Linked DNA regions of Homo sapiens: regions 1, 3 and 4 are each linked to region 2. Evidence: promoter capture Hi-C in human tissues and cell types (Jung and others, 2019). All regions are on one chromosome and are shown on one strand. Each heading gives the region's core, a stretch centred on a gene start or on the middle of the fragment in contact. The rest is flanking DNA. Distances are from core to core; before and after follow the strand shown. Region 1 overlaps PRPSAP2 (phosphoribosyl pyrophosphate synthetase associated protein 2). Region 2 holds the start of SLC5A10 (solute carrier family 5 member 10). Region 3 overlaps SLC5A10 (solute carrier family 5 member 10). Region 4 has its middle 10 kb from the start of PRPSAP2.

Region 1 (2,811 bases), core at 43-2,542, 87 kb after region 2:
GAACATCTTGCATGATGAAAAAAAAGATACATGATGAAAAAAAGATATAATTATTTTATAATTATAAAATATCTGCTTTCAAATTTAACAATAACTGCTAATCTGATTATCAAATTTAAAGCATCACATAATGAATATAGATTTTAATGGTACAATTATAACTCACTCTGCAATTTTCTTTGATAGCTCCATACATGATGAATTCGAGTTTGCTGAAAACAACACCAGACCACCTTTGGTTATGTTCATCTTGGTTTCTAATTCAGGTGGCGTCACACAAAACATCAAAACCTTCTTGGTTTTCCAATTTTCAGAGCCTAGAAGGATATAATACTTATTAAAAACTGCCATATGATATGAAATATACCTGAATGAATTTTTTTTAAAGGAAATGACTTCAGCTGAAGGAAATTAGTTTCCATCCTAATAGTATTTTTTAAATATTAGATATATATGGACAAACAGAAAGTTCAGTTGGATTTCAGGGTCCTAAATTTATGGAAATACATTATCACATGATGTTCACAACCACTAAGAAGAAATGATAAACTTACAAGAAAGGCGGAGCTGAAGAGCTCAATGTTTTACTGATTGCTGCTTAAAGTCAATTATGGACAACCTCCTTTTATTCTCTGACAACAAAATTCCTCCTGGATTAACACACAGAAAAATGGCAGAGCCATTAGCGAGAACAAGGACTGATTAATCCTTAGACAAAGAATAAATGACCCATCTACACCCAGCTTTTCCTGTAATCCTTGTTTACCATAAAACCTTTCCCGGCCTTTCAGCTGCCCTGTGTCATGTCTAAAACTGACCTCTCATCTTCATTTTCCTCAAGTGGAACACGGGCTGACTAGATAATCACCTTGAAGGACACTTAAGCGACCACCCAAATGACAGTTTTGGTCACACCCAAATTTTGGCAGTGGGCCAAAAATAAAAAGGTCCCTGGCTTATAAATCATCAGTGCTGGTCAGATGTGGTGGCTCACGCCTGTAATCCTAGCACTTTGGGAAGCCAAGGCAGGCAGATCACGAGATCAAGAGATCAAGACCACCCTGGCCAACATGGTGAAACCCTGTCTCTACTAAAAATACAAAAAATAGCTGGGCATGGTGGCGCGTGCCTGTAGTCCCACCTACTCGGGAGGCTGAGGTAGGAGAATGACGTGAACCTGGGAGGCAGAGGTTGCAGTGAGCTGAGATCGTGCCACTGCACTTCCAGCCTGGCGACACAGCAAGACTCCATCTCAAAAAAAAAAAGTCGTCATCATTGCTGAGTGTCCTCATCACATAATGGAGATGCTAGATGGGAGGAACAGCAACAATCCAGCAGGCTGTGGGCAGGGGGGCCCTTTCTCAGCAAGCCCACTGCATTTCCACAGTTGTATGTTCACCTGGGACCTCTGGGAAGGCTGGTGTAGATCATCAATGAGCTGAAACTAAGCTAATCTTTTTCATTATTCTCAAATTTTAATTATACAAGTAAAACACAAACACATCCTCCCTATAAAAACCTGAAACATGGCTGGGCGCGGTGGCTCAGACCTGTAATCCCAGCACTTTGGGAGGCCAAGGCAGGCGGATCACAAGGTCAGGAGTTCAAGACCAGCCTGGCCAAAAGGGTGAAATCTGTCTCTACTAAAAATACAAAAATGAGCTGGGCGTGGTGGTGGCTGCCTATAGTCCCAGCTACTCTAGAGGCTGAGGCTTGAGAATCGCTTGAACTCAGGAGGCAGAGGTTGCAGTGAGCCAAGATTGCACCACTGTACTCCAGCCTGGGCAACAGAGCGAGACTCCGTCTCAGAAAAAAAAAAAAACCTGAAACATGATAGTTAAGGATAAAGTCACCAGCCTCGATCCCAGGTCCTCCCCAGAAGTGAGGGTTCTTATCAGTTTGGTAGGGACAACATAAGACTTTTTCTATGCATTTATACATGTGACCTCCATAAAAATTATATACGGCCAGGCACAGTGGCTCACGCCTGTAATCCTAGCACTTTGGGAGGCTGAGGTGGGCAGATCACTTGAGGCCAGGAGTTCGAGACCAGCCTGACCAACATGGTGAAACCCCATCTCTACTAAAAATACAAAAAAATAAAAATAAAAATAAGCCAGGCATGGTGGTACATGCCTGTAATCCCAGCTACTCATGAGGCTGAGGCAGGAGAATCGCTTAAACCCAGGAGGCAGAAGTTGCAGTGAGCTGAGATCCACTGCACTCCAACCTGGGCAATGAGAACAAAACTCCATCTAAAAAATTAAAAAAAAAAAAAAAAAAAAAAGGCCACGCAGTGGCTTACGCCTGTAATCCCAGCACTTTGGGAGGCCGAGGTGGGTGGATCACCTGAGGTCAGGGGTTCGAGACCAGCCTGGACAACATGGCGAAACGCTGTCTCCACTAAAAATACAAAAGATTAGCCGGGCGTGGTGGCAGGTGCCTGTAGTCCCAGCTAATCGGGAGGCTGAGGCAGAAGAATGGCATGAACCCAGGAGGCAGAGCTTGCAGTGAGCCAAGATCGCGCCACTGCACTCCAGCCTGGGCGACAGAGCGAGACTCCGTTTCAAATAAAGAAAAGAAAAGAAAAGAGAAGAAGAAAGAAAGGGAAGAAAGAAAGAAAAGAAAGAAAGAATACGTTTAATCATCAACATTCTGGAAGGGATCTTAAATACTTCTAAAGCCATCTCTCAACCAATAAACATGTGTGTTTAAGAACAAAAGGTATGGCCAGGCACAGCAACTCACACCGCTAATCCCAGCACCTTGTGAGGCCAAGGTGGGCTGACTGCTTGAGCCCAAGAGTTTGAG
Region 2 (2,700 bases), core at 25-2,524:
GGTACTCGGCCGGGCGCGGTGGCTCACGCCTGTAATTCTAGCACTTTGGGAGGCCGAGGCGGGCAAATCATGAGGTCAGGAGTTCGAGACTAGCCTGGCCAACACGGTAAAACTCTGTCTCTACTAAAAATACAAAACATTACCTGGGTGTGGTAGTGGACGCCTGTAATCCCAGCTACTCAGGAGGCTGAGGCAGAATTGTTTGAACCCAGGAGGTGGAGGTTGCAGTGAGCCGAGATAGTGCCACTGCACTCCAGCCCAGGTGACAGTGCTAGACTCCGTCTCAGTTAAAAAAAAAAAAAAAAAAAAAGAAGGGGTACTCATTCTCCCCAGGAGACTGTCAGGGCTCAGGGATGCCAGGCTGGGGACCTCTGGGGCTTAAGAAGTGGAGCCCAACATCCCCAGGCGCTAAGCGTGGAGCAGGTGACCTGAACCAGGCTGTGTCCACCTTCCCTCAGGAAGGCCTCCACGATAGACCAGAGGAGCCCTTCCCTTGCTGCAGGGCCAGAGCCTCGGTTTCTCCATCTGCACATGAAACAGCCTGTCCCCAGGGGCCCCGCTGCCCCTGGAATCTGTGTGTGGGGTCAGATCTCTGCTCATTTCTCACTGTTATGAAGGGAGAAAGAACCGGCTTATGATCTAGGGCTAGGCCACAGGACATAAATCCCCAGGGAGCTTGTTCAAAATAAAGACCCCCAGTTCCCAGGGCCCTCCCTGCCTCCGGATTCTGATCCAGCAGCTCTGGGGTGCAGCCAGGGAATCCCGGGGAGCCTGTTGTTCAAGCAGACAGGAGTCACTGACACCATGGAGACTGGGACCAGGAGGCTGATGGGCCACACCCAAGGACTCCAGCTGGGCAGCAGCACAAAAGCCCAGTTACCTGTTAGAGAGAATTTCCTCCTCCTCACTTTGCAGATGGAGACGCCATTACCCAAAGAGAGAAACGGGCTTGGTCAAGGTCTCCAAGCAAGTCTACCCCAGGCTGGGAGGAGGACCACAAGGATCACTAGGCCACCAGCTGGGACCAATGCTGACACCACAGGGACATGCTGGACCCCGGTTCCCACCCCAAGCACCAACCCTGAGAGCCCACTTGGCCAACACCACCACAGGTCCCCTTACCCATATGCCCACGGCCACATTCAGAGCAAAATACACAGTGATGACGATGATGTCAGCCACGCTCAGCTGCGTCCCGGGAGTGTGGAGGTCGCTGGTGGAGTTGGCGGCCATGGCTGTCCTGCCGCAGGCACTAGGTATGAGCCCGAGGGACTGAGGGGCAAACCAGGTCAGAAAGGGTTTCCTGGCAGGGAGCTCATTGATCATTAAACCAAGCGGACAGTGGCATCTCCAGCCCATGATGTGGCTGCATGCAGGGCAGCTGCCTCACCATGCAGTTCAGCTTCCTCACCCCATGGTGGGGTGCAGATCCCAGAGCGCAGGAGTCAGGGAGCCTGGGAGAAGCAAGTGGGAGGAGGAAAGGAAGGAGCCTCCTTGAACTCGGAGGGGGCTTGGGGAAAATGAACCGCATTTAGTGGACCCGGAGGCAGCCCAAATAGTCCCAGAAAGGCTGGGTTGCTTAATGGGTGGCTTCACCTATATCTAATTTGTATAAGAAGCATAGAGCGTAGGGACAACCGCCTCACCTCTGAAGATACTGCCGTGGCGGGCAGCCATGTCCTCCCTTGGCCATCGGGCTGTGAGTGGACTGAGCAGGGCTTGGGAGGGGGACACCTGCATTATGGCTCACGTCCAGCCAACACAGCCCAGGCTCAGAGGCAGCCCCATGTCGGACAATAAAGTCCTGCTTCCAGCGTTTCTGCTTTCTTTTTCTAGACCCGTGAAACAGTCCCAGGCCCCTCAACTTGACCATGCATTCGGCCCCCACCCCGGGCAATGTCTGCCTGGGACCACAGAGGGACCCAATATCTGTCACACACCAAGGACCATGCGTGGCTGTTCTGCACATGATCCCATTTCACGGACCATGCGTGGCTGTTCCGCACATGATCCCATTTCACGCTCACAGCAGCCACGCAGAGTAGGCAATGTCTCATCCTAGTCAAGGAAATGGCCATCCGCCATTACGCAGCCATTGAAGGCGCAGAGTAGGATTCAGTGCAGATGTGGCCCCACCGTCTCCACCGCAGTGACAGTGACGAGTTCCATCTGGATTCCATCAGAGTGGGACGCTCGCTCACTAATTCTATCAGTGTACACAGCAGGGCTGGCCGGCAGTCTCACGCCTCTGCTCAGTGACATGACTCGTGACTTTGCAAAGCATTTGCAGTTTAACCAGACATGCAGCACTTCCAGAAGTGTTAATGAGTGAGCGGCTGCCACCAGGAACACGCTGGCCTGCAAACCCAGCCAGCCTGTTACTCAATAACCCTGAGGTGCGGGTAAAAATTAATCCCCTCGGCCAGGAGCAGTGGCTCATGCCCTTGGGAGGCTCATGCCTTTGGGAGGCCAAGGCGGGTGGATCACCTGAGATCAGGAGTTTGAGACCAGCCTGGCCAACATGGCAAAACCTCGTCTCTACTAAAAATACAAAAATTAGCCAGACATGGTGGTACGCACCTGTAATCCCAGCTACTTGGGAGGCTGAGGCAGGAGAATTGCTTGAACTCAGGAGGTAGAGATTGCAGTGAGCCAAGACTGCGCCATTGCAGTCCAGCCTGGGCAACAGAGGGAGACTCC
Region 3 (2,700 bases), core at 68-2,567, 64 kb before region 2:
GGAACAGTGGACTGAGGTGTGGGGGCTTGGGGCAGGCATACGGGAGTGGGGGCGGGTCATCGCTCTCCCCCAGCCTGTGACGGCTCCTCCAGCCTCTGCTCAGCTGGACAGAGCCATCAGGGTCACCGGCATGGTACTGCACCCGGCCCTGCGATGGCCTCCTCTCCAGGCCTCTGGGCTGTTGGTCTTCTCTCTGTAAGCCTCGCCTCTCCCTGACAGAGACTGTTGTCAGGCCATTCACCCTACCAGAGATCCATGACCACGAGGCCTAGGAGATACCGCTCCAATGGTGGTGTTTCGGGCAGGAGGAAGCTGAGACGGCTTTGAGGGGCTGGGGGTGTTGAGGGTATCCCAGTGCTGTAAGAGGGACGGGAAGTTGAGCTGGCCAGCCTGACACCTGGCACGGGGCCCTTTCTGCTCTATCCAGCTGGCAGCTGAGAGAACTGGGGCCCAGAGAGGGTGAGCAACCTGCCCTGCACCACGCAGCCTTGTGCCTTGCTCCTCAGGGAGGCCGACTGCCAGGCTTGCAGGGCTAGGGGCGGGGGTTGACTTGGCAGAAGAGGTGGGAAGGAGGGTCAAGGGCACGGGCAGCTGGGTGAGCTGGCGCAGCAGGAGGCCAGGTCAAGACTTTTGGTTGCAGGTGGGAGTCTGGGTGAGGAGGCCAGGAAGTAGTGGGCAGGGGACATGAGGGCCACTGGGCAGGTACAGGGGCTACCAGTGTCACACACTGGGTGGCAGGAGGGCATCCAGTTCCCAGGGCCCAGGATGCTGGAGCATGGAGGGGCTTAGAGCAAGGTCTGGCCTCAGAGGAGACACATGGTCAGAGAGGGGCAGGGTCTTCCCCAGGCCACACAGCTTCTGAGGAGAGGCAGGGGAGCCAGAGGGGGAGAAGTGGTCAAGGGGCCAAGTGCCCAGGACACAGGGACATGGAAGTGTCCTGCCCAGTGAGAGGTGGGAGGCTCCTTGTTTTGGAGAATCCTGTGAGCCCGTGGATGAGCTCACTCGCACCCGCCTCTGGCGTGTCCCAACAGGGCCCTTCCAACAGAAGCCTGACTATTTTGCATCCCTGGGACAGCTGCCTGGAGCTCTGGAGGAGACCCCACCCCCAGGATGGGTGCCCTGGGCTCCTGGCCAGGGGGTGCTCTGTTGTGCCAGAAGGCTGGACCCCCGAGCAGCAGAGTGTGAGCCACACTGCTCAGAGGACAACAAGAGGGTGGGACTGGAGGGCCAGGGAGGGCGCAAATAGACACGTGCACATGGGAGCTAACCTCTGAGGATGTAAAGGCATAAGAGTGATAGGATGGGCTGGGCACACTGGCTCATACCTGTAATCCCAGCCCGCTGAGGTGGATGAATAACCTGAGGTCAGGAGTTCGAGACCAGCCTGGCCAACATGGTGAGACCCTGTCTCTACTAAAAATACAAAAAGTAGCCAGGCGTGGTGGTGCGCTCCTGCAATCCCAGCTACTCAAGAGGCTGAGACACGAGAATCTCTTGAACCCGGGAGGTGGAGGTCGCAGGGAGCCAAGATCATACCACTGCACTCCAGCCTGGGTGACAAAACGAGACTGTCTCAAAAAAAAAAAAAAGAATGATACAATGGACTTTGAGGACTCAGGGGAAACGCTGGGAGGGTGTGAGGGATAAAAGACTACACATTGGGTACAGTGTATACCACTCGGGTGATGGATACACCAAAATCTGAGAAATCGCCACTAAAGAACTTATTCATGTAACCAAACACCACCTGTTCTCCAGACACAGCCCCGGTCCTCATGAAGCGCCCAGATATTTGGAGAAGGGTGTCGGGGAGGTCTCTTGGCCTGTAATGGCCACATGTGCTGTGGGAAGAATCTGGCAAGCGTCCCTGGGGTATGAAGGGGAGAGAGGCTCATTCCTTGGTTGAGGGTCTCAGGGAGGACTGCACGGAGGAGGGGACACAGGCAGAGTCCAGAAAGATCAGCATGAGTCATCGAGGTGAAAAAGGAGGGGACAAGCTGGGCTGGGAGGAAACAAGCTGGAGCTCAGTAGGGCCAGGGCCATGGAGGCTGAGGGACGTGGCAGCCCAAGTGTGGCCAGTCCTGAGTGCTGGCCCGGGGGCCCTCTGTGGCGCAGCTGGGAACCATCAGGAGGAATGGGGGCCCAGGTTTTCGGGGAGATAGAGAGATCTGTGGCATGGTTGGGGAGGGAGGGCTGGCCCCTGCAGAAGGAATCCAGCTCAAGGGTGGAGATGCATCCCAGATGAGGGCTGTGATCACACAGAGGTGGACAGGAGAGCAATGTGAGAGGTGGTATGGATGGGGTACACTGGCCCTTCTCTTCCCTCCTTCCTGGCATCCACCTTTCTCTAAGTGGCAAACTCCGGCTCATCCCTCAAAGTCAGTGCGGGCGCCCACCCTTGTAGTGTTCCCCCACCCCCGTACTGGCCCCCACCCCCGTACCGTCCCACCAGCAGGAGCTCCCGCTCGCCGGAGCGGGGACGCAGCCGCCTCCAGATGTCCATAGTGAAGAGGGTGCTGCTGCTGTTGAAGATGGAGGTCAGCGACGACATGAGCGCCGCCAGCATCACTGCGATCATCAGCCCCCGCAGACCTGGGGTGGGACGGGGGATGTGTGACCCTGTCCGGCCTTGAGACAGCCCCGGGAACCCCTCCCGCCTGGGCTCTAATGCCTGAGGCCCGCCCGCCATTTGCATGCTCC
Region 4 (2,700 bases), core at 53-2,552, 100 kb after region 2:
GTGACATATCACTCTAAGTCTGTGTGTAACAGATTGAAGCCCTCTCATTCTCCCAAAATAGTGTAGAGCCTTTGAAAGGATTAAATACATTCATTTTTTTTTAACTGCCTATATCGAAAGACACAGATTGGGAGAAAATATTCACACTACATATATCTGAAGACAAAGGACCTATATCCGATGACAAAGGACATATATCCAGATGATATAAGTAACTCATTTTTAATTTTTTTTTTTTTTTGAGACGGAGTCTTACTCTGTCGCCCAGGCTGGAGTACAGTGGTGTGATCATAGCTCACTGCAGCCCCAGCCTCCTGGATTCCAGTGATCCTGCTGCCTCAGCTTCCCAAGTAGTTAGGACTACAGACATGTGCCCCTGCACCTGGCTTAAAGTTTATTTTTTAAAATCTGCCGGCCTGAAGGACAGGTCTTCTGCCCTGCTTGCAGTCCCTGTGGACTGTCTGTCTTGACTTCCCTCCCACTCCCTCTGGGCACCTGCCCTCAGTGCAGCTGCCCTCCAGCCCCTCCGCTACCTCTGCAGCTCTGCCTGTGCTGTTGTTCCCTTCTTTGCTTGCGGAAATCCTGTCTCCACTGAGGCCCTGCTCTGGGAAGCTTCCACCTCCCACAGGCTTTCCCGGTGTGTGATTTCACTCCTTTGCTGGCATTTAGAGGTAGAAGCTGAGAGGCCTGGGGAAACTAACTCAAACAGTTGGTGACAGCTGAGGAGAGTCTGGAAGGTGAGGGACTCAGAGCTGGGGACATGGATGGACAATGCTGTAACCGCCCTCGCAGCCCACCATCCAGGAGGAAGCCGAGGAGACAGGCCTGGGCCCAAGCTCCAGGGCTCAGAACAGTTAGATCAGATTCCTGTTGATTCTGCCTTTGAATCTAAGAGGGTGGCCCAGATCATATATCAGGAGATGGCTGCATATAACAGAAAACAAAATAACAATTACTTACAGGCCGGGTGCAGTGGCTCACACCTGTAATCCCAGCACTTTGGGAGGCTGAGGCAGGTGGATCACCTGAGTTCAGGAGTTCGAGACCAGCCTGGCCTCGAACATGGTGAAACCTCGTCTCTACCAAAAATACAAAAAATTAGCTAGGTGTGGTCGTGGGCACCTGTAATCCCAGCTACTCGGGAGGCTGAGGCAGGAGAATTGCTTGAAGCCGGGAGGCGGAGGTTGCAGTGAGCTGAAATCGTACCACTGCACTCCAGCCTGGGCAACAAGAGCGAAACTCCGTCCTCAAAAATAAAAAAATAAAAATAAAATACAGGCCGGGCACGGTGGCTCACGCCTGTAATCCCAACTCTTTGGGAGGCCAAGGTGGGAGGATCACCTGAGGTCAGGAGTTCAAGACCAGCCTGGCCAACTTGGTGAAACCCATCTCTACTAAAAATACAAAAATTAGCTGGGCATGGTGGCGCACCTGTAGTCCCAGCTATTCGGGAGGCTGAGGCAGAAGAATCGCTTGAACCCAGGAGCTGGAGGTTGCAGTGAGCTGAGATTGCCACTGCACTCCAGCCTGGTGACAGAGTGAGACTCTGTCACAAAGAAAAAAGAAAAGAAAAAAAAACAGCTGGCCGGGCGTGGTGGCTCACGCCTGTAATCCCAGCACTTTGGGAGGCCGAGGCGGGCGGATCATGAGGTCAGGAGATTGAGACCACGGTGAAACCCCGTCTCTACTAAAAATACAAAAAATTAGCTGGGTGCGGTGGCGGGTGCCTGTAGTCCCAGCTACTCGGGAGGCTGAGGCAGGAGAATGGCGGGAACCCAGGAGGCGGAGCTTGCAGTGAGCTGAGATGGCGCCACTGCACTCCAGCCTGGGCGACAGAGCGAGACTGCGTCTCAAAAAAAAAAAAAAAAACAGCTGGAGTCCACTGCACACAGGCAATGACTCTCACACATGAAACTCATATTTAGATCTGTGCTATGTTTTGGGTTTTGTTTTTAAATACAATAATGTTTAAACAGATTAAACCAAGTTTTAAAAATAACAGGCACATATTACATGAAAGAAATCAAGGAAATGTCTCGGGAAGAAAAAAATCTTAGTGTTAAAATTCCTAAATATCAGTATAGTCATTATATATTGTTCAAAAATAGCAATATTCTGATTAGTTATATGTTTGTTTGAAAATAAAATAATTTGGTAAATTTCCCACATATTTAGTCTAGTACTTAGTCTTAATATAAAAAGCTGGATTTGCCAGCAGAAAATTGTAATTACTTTTTTATGAAGTAAACACACATTATATCACTATCATTGCATGGAAGAGAAAGTGAACAAAAAAAGATTAAGGAATAAAAAAAAGAATATCACTATCATATAACTACATACATTAACAAAGAGACAAACATATCCCACTGGAGATTAGGAGTTTAGCAGAAGTCTCTGAAAATACTAAAAACCGAAACAAAATTAATAATTGCTTTTTGTTTGTTTGTTTGTTTGTTTGTTTTTTAACTATGTAGCGAATTCTTCTGGTTAAGACTAAGCATCAAAAAAAGAGATCTTCCTGAGAGCAATTATTAAACAATTCCTCTTGACCCACACTTCCAAATTAAGTCTATAGTTCTGGAATATGAAATCATTTTCATTTTAAACATAGTTGATGGAAGGCAACTTTTAAACAGAAAACTGCAGTTTAAAGTTGTCTCAAACTTAGTAGCTATATTTGTAACAAGCAACCACCCA

Evidence for each region. Contacts are between HindIII fragments. The study calls those that stand out against the background at their distance.
Region 1: a contact is called between a fragment that was not itself captured here and the fragment with the promoter of SLC5A10 in region 2, in 3 of the 25 tissues and cell types used here (dorsolateral prefrontal cortex, mesenchymal stem cells and spleen).
Region 3: a contact is called between a fragment that was not itself captured here and the fragment with the promoter of SLC5A10 in region 2, in 2 of the 25 tissues and cell types used here (dorsolateral prefrontal cortex and spleen).
Region 4: a contact is called between a fragment that was not itself captured here and the fragment with the promoter of SLC5A10 in region 2, in 7 of the 25 tissues and cell types used here (bladder, liver, lymphoblastoid cells and 4 more).

Annotation. Positions count from the first base shown.
Region 1 is chr17:18,863,308-18,866,118 of GRCh38, reverse strand. It overlaps PRPSAP2 (phosphoribosyl pyrophosphate synthetase associated protein 2), which reads right to left. Exons shown (of 12, transcript NM_002767.4): 2 at 555-650; 3 at 167-317. The coding sequence starts at 285. Among named protein-coding and RNA genes, the nearest start is that of PRPSAP2, 6.6 kb to the right of the region's middle. The HindIII fragment of the contact is 6,276 bases long and covers 1-2,811 here.
Region 2 is chr17:18,950,739-18,953,438 of GRCh38, reverse strand. It overlaps SLC5A10 (solute carrier family 5 member 10), which reads right to left and starts at 1,274. Exons shown (of 15, transcript NM_001042450.4): 1 at 1,123-1,274. The coding sequence starts at 1,233. The HindIII fragment of the contact is 13,514 bases long and covers 1-2,700 here.
Region 3 is chr17:19,014,941-19,017,640 of GRCh38, reverse strand. SLC5A10 (solute carrier family 5 member 10) reads right to left here. Exons shown (of 15, transcript NM_001042450.4): 11 at 2,442-2,592. Among named protein-coding and RNA genes, the nearest start is that of FAM83G, 12 kb to the right of the region's middle. RefSeq lists an enhancer at 2,568-2,700. The HindIII fragment of the contact is 7,730 bases long and covers 1-2,700 here.
Region 4 is chr17:18,846,683-18,849,382 of GRCh38, reverse strand. No RefSeq gene overlaps it. Among named protein-coding and RNA genes, the nearest start is that of PRPSAP2, 10 kb to the left of the region's middle. The HindIII fragment of the contact is 5,637 bases long and covers 1-2,700 here.